Regions from separate parts of the Homo sapiens genome. Here region 1 is linked to region 2. Evidence: promoter capture Hi-C in 16 types of primary human blood cells and fetal thymus (Javierre and others, 2016). All regions are on one chromosome and are shown on one strand. The core of a region is centred on a gene start or on the middle of the fragment in contact, and the rest is flanking DNA. Distances in the headings are between cores, read along the strand shown. Region 1 overlaps ENTPD1-AS1 (ENTPD1 antisense RNA 1). Region 2 holds the start of ALDH18A1 (aldehyde dehydrogenase 18 family member A1).

Evidence for each region. The method cuts DNA at HindIII sites, captures the fragments that hold promoters and counts their contacts. A CHiCAGO score of 5 or more calls a contact.
Region 1: a contact is called between a fragment that was not itself captured here and the fragment with the promoter of ALDH18A1 in region 2, in 1 of 17 cell types (activated CD4 T cells). The highest score is 5.9, in activated CD4 T cells.

The regions. Positions count from the first base shown.
Region 1 is chr10:95,902,535-95,906,939 of GRCh38, forward strand. All of the region lies in intron 2 of ENTPD1-AS1 (ENTPD1 antisense RNA 1), which reads right to left. Among named protein-coding and RNA genes, the nearest start is that of CC2D2B, 3.2 kb to the right of the region's middle. The HindIII fragment of the contact is 2,948 bases long and covers 1,539-4,405 here.
Region 2 is chr10:95,655,076-95,659,215 of GRCh38, forward strand. ALDH18A1 (aldehyde dehydrogenase 18 family member A1) reads right to left here and starts at 1,636. Exons shown (of 18, transcript NM_002860.4): 1 at 1,522-1,636. RefSeq lists a silencer at 1,373-1,482. The HindIII fragment of the contact is 11,183 bases long and covers 1-4,140 here.

The sequences.
Region 1 (4,405 bases), core at 1,763-4,262, 250 kb after region 2:
ATTTATTCTTTTCTACCAGCCCCCATCCCTGCCCATCTTTCTCTCTCTTCTTGTGTGTTTGTTTTGCAGGGGAAAGCAGAGGGGGAAGTAGAGACCTTTCTTTTTTTAGGTTAATACAGTGAAACTCCACTTAAAATGGACTTCCTGGATTCCCTTCCAGAGATTGGTTCAAAAACTCTGTGATGGAGTTCAGGAATCTGCATTTTAAATAAACACTCCTAATAACTTTGATGCTGGTAGTCCAAGAACAACACTGAAAAGCAAGGTGCATGGATAAGTAGAGTAGTGTTTTGCCAGGTGGAACAGTCCATTCTAGGCAGAGAACAGAAGTAAAGGCATGATGGCATCAATGTGCATCATGTGCCTGAGGAACAGGTGCTTAAGGTCCTTAACTTTGCTGGTCCTCAGTTTCTGCGTCTGATAAAAGAAGAGCTGACCTACATTGTTTTTGAGGTCCTTCCCAAAGTTAATATTTGATCATCACCCAAAGTACACAGGAATCATGGTTCACTGTTCACAGATGATACTGTGCTAATTGCTACTCATTTATTCAACAAACAAATGAAGAAATTCAGTGTCAGCCCTCAGTTTTTAGTCTGGTGGAGAGAGAGACAGATGAGTAATTACTATACAGTGCCATACAGAAGGAATTAGTGGTGGCATCACAAAGAAAGTAATGCTTGAGCAGAAACTTTATGGGGAAAAGTTGACAGGATTCCAGCAAGGAATGGCTCGTGCAAAGAAAACTACATGCTGTGACCAGGATACAGTTAATGGTTTAGCATGGTTTTAGCACAGTGTGCATGCTGGAGAATCGCAGAAAAACAAAGTTTTGGAAGAAAGGAGCTAGTTCATATATGTCAGGCAGAGCTCAGATTTTACTATATGGAGGAACTGAAAGCAGGGGATCAGGTCTGCACTTTAGGAACACAGTTCTGGTGATAATATAATGAAAGAAACAAGAAGGAGATAACTGGGAGACAAGTTAGTTAGTCAGTGAATGTCAAGAGATGCTGGCTGCTAAAGCACAGCCATGAGGACAAAGACAGGCTCCAAAGAACAGCTATTCAGGCAGCAGAATTAACCTGCTGAATGTGTGTGGAATGACTTTAAAAAATGGAATTTCAGGATTGTTCTTAGTTTTCACTGGGGTGACTGAGCAGATACTGGCCTCATTCACGAAACAGGAAACACAGGGAATAAGTCTGGGGAGGGAAGGTTGGTTTTGAACTCTATACATTTCGGGTACTTTGGGTACTGGGGTAAGGGTGTCACCGTCAGGAGCTCAGGTAAGAAGTCCAGGCTAAAGAGAGATTTGGAGGTCATTTCCCTAAACTGGTGGTTGAAGCTAAGAGATTACTCATAGGGAACAACAGAAACTGAAAAGAGAAAAAGATCAAGGACAAAACCTTAAAGAGCAACAACTGCGGGAAGGGGGACAGAGGGAAAGGTTTGTTTATTTTTATGACAAACTTCAACATGTCTAGATGCCAAGGAGAAGAAAATGACTACAAAAGCATAGAAAAGGTATTAGAGCAAGCTTGTCCAACCTGCAGCCCACAGGCTCCATGTGGCCCAGGACTGCTTTGAATGTGGCCCAAGACAAATTTGTAAACTTTCTTAAAACATTTTGAGAGTTCTTTGCAATTTTTTATTTTTTGAGCTCATCAGCTATCGTTAGTGTATTTTATGTATGGCCCAAGACATTTCTTCTTCTTCCAATATGGCCCAGGGATGCCAAAAAATTGGATACCCCACACTAGAGCAAGATCCCAGAGGAACTGGTACTGCAAATTTAAAATAACCTAAGAGGTGGGAGAAGAATGGTAGAAACTGATGTTTGCGAAAACAATGAAACAAGGAAAGTTCAAGACTGGGAAATGGTCTACAGAGCCAAGTGCAGAAAAGAAGCCTAAGAAGATATTTTGGGTTTGGCAATCACAAAGTCCTTGGTGGCATGATTAGGTGGCGGAAGCCAGAACTCTGTGGGTAGAAGAGTTAACAAGTAAGGGAAGGGAAAAAAAGATTACCTTTTTCTCTAAATGTGGCTGTAAAAAAGGAGAGAGAGAAGAAATCTGAGAATAATCCCAGTTGATGGTTTTTCTTTTTGTTTTTGTTTTGTTGGATAGGGCAGATAAAGCCAGGGGAGGGAGGTGGGGAAAGGGTATACTGAAGATAAAAAGGGAGGGTTAAATGATGAAATAAGGCCCCAGAGGAGACAGAATGAATGGGATCTAGGACATATATTGGATCATCTGTAGATAGAAAAAAAAAAAAGAAATAAATCAAACATACCTCTTCATCTGAGACAGGATATCTGCTGATGTTAAGTTGGCCTGGTGGTCAGTGTCACAGTATTCATGTCTGAGAGTCTCTGTTTCCTCTGAAAAAGCCAAGCCAGCTGCTGAAAGTACAAGGTCAAAAGTAGAGTAGGTTTAAGGAACGATAAAAGTTAGAATAGTAGCTGTGGGTGAGAAAGGAAAAGAATGGCTGAGCTACATTATGGACCATGCCATATCATCATGGCAATAATCTGGTTACATGATTTTCACTAATACAATTACCTTTCTATATGAGGAGAGAAAGCAAATGGCTAGACTAAACTAGAATAGGTATGCTGGACAAAAGTGGAAGAAACACAAAAGGCAAAGAAATTGTGGATACTGATGTGGGTAAATAATAAAACAAGGAGTGTGGGCTAGACAAGGAAGAAAGTCAATGTAGGTAGAGGCTGATGATGACAAAATAGTCATCAAGGGACAGCGTCTTCATGAGATCAGGGATTAAGTATAGAAGAATAAGGCAGAGGAAGAGATGAAAGAAACAGGAAGATGAGAAGAGAATACTAGAGTTCGTGATTGTTAATATGGAACAGTCTTAGATATTATGGTCCTGCAGTCAGTCAGTCATGGCAGTAAGTTAAGGGAATATGGGGTGCTGGACCTGTGATACACATGACTGCTTTAGTCCCCCCAGAACCTTGTAGCAATTGAGTATGAAAGAAAGACTGGCCAGGCACAGTGGCTCATGCCTGTAATCCCAGCACTTTGGGATGCCGAGGCGGGTGGATCACCTGCGGTCAGGAATTCAAGACCAGCCTGGCCAACATGGTGAAATCCGGTCTCTCCTAAAAATACAATTAGCTGGGCGTGGTGGTGCACGCCTGTAGTCCCAGCTACTCGGGAGGCTGAGGCAGGAGAATCGCCTGAACCCGGGAGGCAGAGGTTGCAGTAAGTTGAGATCACACCACTGCACTCCAAACTGGGCTGACAGAGACTCCGTCTCAAAAAAAAAAAAAAAAAAAAGACTTGAGTTGGGTACTAAATTCCTTAATGAACATGAGTGACCAGGCAGCTGGTAAATAACAGTGAGGAGAGGGAAAAGGGCTCATTAGAGAAGGGTTTCTGGTAAGTTTTACAAGGGTGGAATGGAATGGCGTAGCAATGGCCATGAGGAGATGGCGAATACAGATACCAGCTCTGGGTCCTGGGGTGGGATGGAATGGCCTAGCAATGGCCATGAGGAGATGGCGAATACAGATACCACCTCTGGGGGGCGGGGGGCGCGGGCAGGCACGGCTTTCGCTGTGGTGAATTGCTGGGAAAGCAGTGTCTCCAGCAGGCATGGCTTTCGCTGTGGTGAATTGCTGGGAAAGCAGTGTCTTCAGGAGACAGCCAGGTACCCAATATCACAAGGAGGAATGTTTTGTGAACAAGAAGATATAAAGACATAGAGGGGTGAGAACATGTGGTGTTTGGTTTTTTGTCCTTGCGATACTTTGCTGAGAATGATGGTTTCCAGCTTCATCCATGTCCCTACAAATGACATGAACTCATCATTTTTTATGGCTGCATAGTATTTCATATGAGAATTGAACAATGAGAACACCTGGACACAGGAAGGGGAACATCACACACCAGGGCCTGTTGTGGAATGGGGGGAGGGGGAGGGATAGCATTAGGAGATATACCTAATGTAAATGACGAGTTAATGGGTGCAGCACACCAACATGGCACATGTATACATATGTAACAAACCTGCACGTTGTGCGCATGTACCCTGGAACTTAAAGTATGATAAAATATATATATATATAAATTTAAAAAAAGATATAGAGGGGTTTACATATGAGGAGTCTAGAAAAAGAGTTTACAGTTTCCAGAAGAAGGCAGATAGTGAGACGATCAGCAGATGGAGAAGGTGTGGGAATGAGGCTGCGAGAAGGGATAAATTATCTGGGTTGTTACCAAGTATGACAGAGACTATAGACAGGGTGGGATTTACGGTCTCAAATGAAACTGTGCCAAGCTGTCAGAGACACTGGGACTCTATTTTGCTTACTAAGGTTAAACACTAGTATTACTTTTGGTCACCATACTATTAAAAAATAAAGACAATCCTACGA
Region 2 (4,140 bases), core at 386-2,885:
GGTTCGAGCTCTGCACTTGCTGTGTGTCTTGTGGAGAGTTACCCAATTTTTCTTTATTATTATTATTATTATTATTATTATACTTTAAGTTTTAGGGTACATGTGCACAATGTGCAGGTTAGTTACATATGTAAGAGTTACCCAATTTTTCTAAGCCTCTGTTTCCTCACTTATAAATCAGGGATACTAACACTATGGACCTCATGAAATTATAGTGAGAATTAAAAGAGAGAATGCGTGGAAAGTGCTTGGGTACAACAAATGGTCAGTAAATGTCAGTTTTCCTCCTTTTGTCTTTTAGGCACTAATGATGCCTTACAATTATTTTTTCCTTAATTTCCTTCAAGACCCATCACGGGAACAAAGAATTCAACGAATATTCACTATTAGATACAATCACACACATATATTGACTGACTGTTTACCTCTCTATTAACCAAGAGTCATTGAAAGCTCTGAACACCTACGGTCACTGAAATAAGAGATTGAAGACTGACGTAGAAACCAAGCCTCCTGACCTCTCCCCTGTACCACCATCTCTGACTGACCAGGCAGAGTGTATTACGCCCTCGAGAAGCACACAGTTGATCCCAAGGAGCAAAGAGAGTGTGTGTGTGTGTGTGTGTGTGTGTGTATCTAGACTCGTGTCTAGATTTGTGTGACTGTGTCTCGACTCTGTGTGTGTGTTTAGACTCCATATCATCAGTTGAAGAAAGTTTTCACGTTTTGACTCAAGACATTTCTCAATATCTCTTTACAGACTAAACAGAATGCCCTTATCTAACTGATTTGAACAGAGAAGTGAACCTCAGTCCCAGCACAGTTCACCCACAAACACATGCTCGGTATATGGCTCACCACTTAAATACAAAGATCCGATGGGCCTCACCACCTCAGAGGGCAGGGGATAATGATGGGGGAAGGACGAGGTGGGGTATGTGGGTGCGTCCTGCTGTAACAGGAAGACCCCAGCATACACAGAATGCCATACTGCAAAGGGAGTCTGGCTTTGAGGAGGGGATGATGAACGCCTGGAGGGCCGCGGGGAACTAGGGACCCAGGCCCCTGAGAGTCAGCGTGCGGCCAGCTAAAACCCGCGGCATCCCGGCGCTGCCACCACCGCCACCCACGCCACCCACCAGTGCAGGCTCCATACTCTTGGAAAGAAGGGGCCCGCGGATGCCTGAAGTCTCCACTTGGCCCAGTTCCTTACATGGTGTACCCAGGGGAGGCCGGGGAGGTCAGGGCCCGTAGCCATCCGTAGATCCCGGGGCGGCCGCGCACCGGCATATGGGAGCGCGCCACGGTCTTGCAGCGCGCCCTGGGCGGCCCGATGCAGCCGCCATCCCTCGGCCGAGGCCCACACCTACCCATGGGCCAGATCCCCGGGCCCCGGCACCTGCTCCGGCAGCGTCCCCGCTCCAGCGGCCCGGCGCTCACGCCCCTCGCGCTTGAGCCTGGGCGCGCAACAGCTTCCGCAGAGACGCGGGCGCCTAGCCATCCCCGCCGCTCGCCGCGTACCTTCCTCACCACCGCCGCCTTCGCCCCCTGGCACTACCGCGGGTCCGCACTCCACGCCGGGCTGATTCCGGCGCTCGCTCACTCTCTTTTTTCTTCCGTCCACGTCCCGCACGATGACGTTACGTCAGTGGCGTAAGAGTAAACCTGGGCAGCCGGCCCTACGCTGTTGACGTGGGGCGAGGGCCTGTCCTGGAGCTGCGGCGCGGCAATGGCGTAGGCCCCTTTCGAGAATCAAGCCAGCGCTCCACGTGGCGGGCCAGCCCACCAGGCCCCGGCAGCCTGGAAGAGGCGGGACTCGAGTTCAGGGGGAACGCCCACGTCCCGGGAGGGGACAGGGGCCGGAGACAGGGGCGAAGACACCTTCGAAACGCCGCCCCACTGGGCCTTCCAGGGAGGTAGAAGAGGTGCCTGGCACCCTCAGCTGCTGGTAGATTTCATAAGGTGTGTTTGTCAATGTTAACCATTTATATCCCGGGCACACCTCGGAAATAGGTTGGATCAACTTACATATGTTTGTTACTTCAGGCACATCCTGGGAATAGATTGGATCAGTTTACACACATTTGCAAACTTTGGCTCCTTAAATGGAAGCATTTTGGCACTGCAATCAAATTACTTGCCCCCTAGTCATCTGGAGGTTTCCCCAATGGTCCCATCTCAACTCCCTTTCATCAAAGGCAGTTGTAAGAATATTGCATTTTAAAATAGGATATTCAATCTATGACAACTAGAACTATTCCAAAGGTGAATGCAGACTCACCTTTAAAGAGAGACCACAAAAACCTGGCACTGTGGTGTGTGCCTGTAGTCCCAGCTACTCGTAGGTGGAGGCAGGAGAACCACCTGAGCCCAGGAGTTCAAATCCAGCCTGGACAACACAGCAAGACCCCACCTCTTAAAAAGAAAAAGAAAAAAAGTGAAAACACAGATTTTTCTCCCTCTTTCCTTGCTGTATTTTGCTCAAAGGACACATTCCTGCATAGGCACATAGTGCTGGGTGGTGGGAGGGCAGCACTTGATAGGAGGTTGGGCACAGAAAGGCATCATGCCCTTCTGTCGTCCCTGATAACACTACTAAGCCTATTTATTCATTTTCTTGTTTATTAAACACTGGCTACTGCTATGGTCTGAATATGTCCCCCAAAATTCATATGTTGGAAACTTAATTCCCAATGCAAGAATATTGGGAGGTGGGGCCTAATGGGAGGCATTTGGGTCAAGAGTGCTCCACCTTTATGAATAGAGTGACCCTCATGAATAGATTAATGCTGCTATCAAAAGGTTTGTGGAGGTGGGTGTTCTCTTCTGCTCTTCTGCCCTTCCACCACGTGAGGATACAGCAAGAAAGCCCTCACCAGATGCTGGCACCTTGATCTTGGACTTCCTAGCCTCTAGAACTGTGAGAAATAAATTTCTATTATTTAAAAATTATCCAGTCTGTGTTATTGTGTTTTAGCAGCACAAAATGGACTGAGACAGCCAAGCATTCCCTGGGTGTGGAAGAAGACATAGCTGAGTTCACAGCCTTATGGAAGAGAGAGATATATGAGCAAATAATTACAATACCATGTGATGAATACTAAAGAATGGGATGGCCAGACATTCAGGGATGGCTGAAATGGTTTGACTTTGTGTCCCCACCCAAATCTCACCTTGAATTGTAATTCCCATAATCCCCACCTATGGAGGGTGGGACCTGATGGGAGGTGATTGGATCATGGGACTGTTTCCCCCATGCTGTTCTTGTGATAGTGAGTTCTTATGAGATCTGGTGGTTTTATAAGGGACTCTTCCCCCTTCACTGGTTTGCTTTCTCCTGCCTGCCACCATGTAAGACTTGCCTCTTCCCCTTCCACCATGATTGTAAGTTTCCTGAAACCTCCCCAGCCATGTGAAACTGTGAATCATCTAAATCTCTTTTCTTTATAAATTACCCAGTCTTGGGTATGTCTTTGTAACAGTGTGAAAACAGACTAATACAATGGCTTTAAAAAGAGTTGATATTCAAATTGTGCTTTGAAGCACTAGAAGTAAGGAGTTTACCTAAAAGAGGAGAGGAGTACAGGATCATATGAGGAAGAGGGAATAAGGGAATGATATATGCAGAGGTGTGAGACACCCCGTGAAAAGAGGCTACTTGCAGTAGGACATGACAGGAGAGGGGTCTGGCTGGTATCCTAAACTTACAAAGGGTTTTTTGTGGTATGCTAAAGATTTTGAATTTTATAATCCTTAAAAACAGAGAAACATGACTTTTTAAGTGCTGGAATGGTATGATCCGATTTTTGTGCCAGAAATCAGTAAAGACGCCTAGAGCTGGAATGTTGGTTAGCCTATTGCAAAGGCCCAGGTAAGAAATGGTGGCCCAAAAAAGGCTCCAGCAGAGGAATGGGGAACAAAAAGGAGGGAGAGCTGACAGCACTTATTCAAAGTGGGAGAGTGAGAGAAGAAGAGCAGTGCTTGGGAATCTGATGGTGCTGCAATACCATGAATCAGGAAATCTATGAGGTGAGTTCTCATGAGATCTGATGGTTTTCTAAGGAACTCTTCCCCCTTCACTTGTTTGCTCTCTCATGCCTGCCACCATGTAAGACATGCCTCTTCCCCTTCCACCATGAT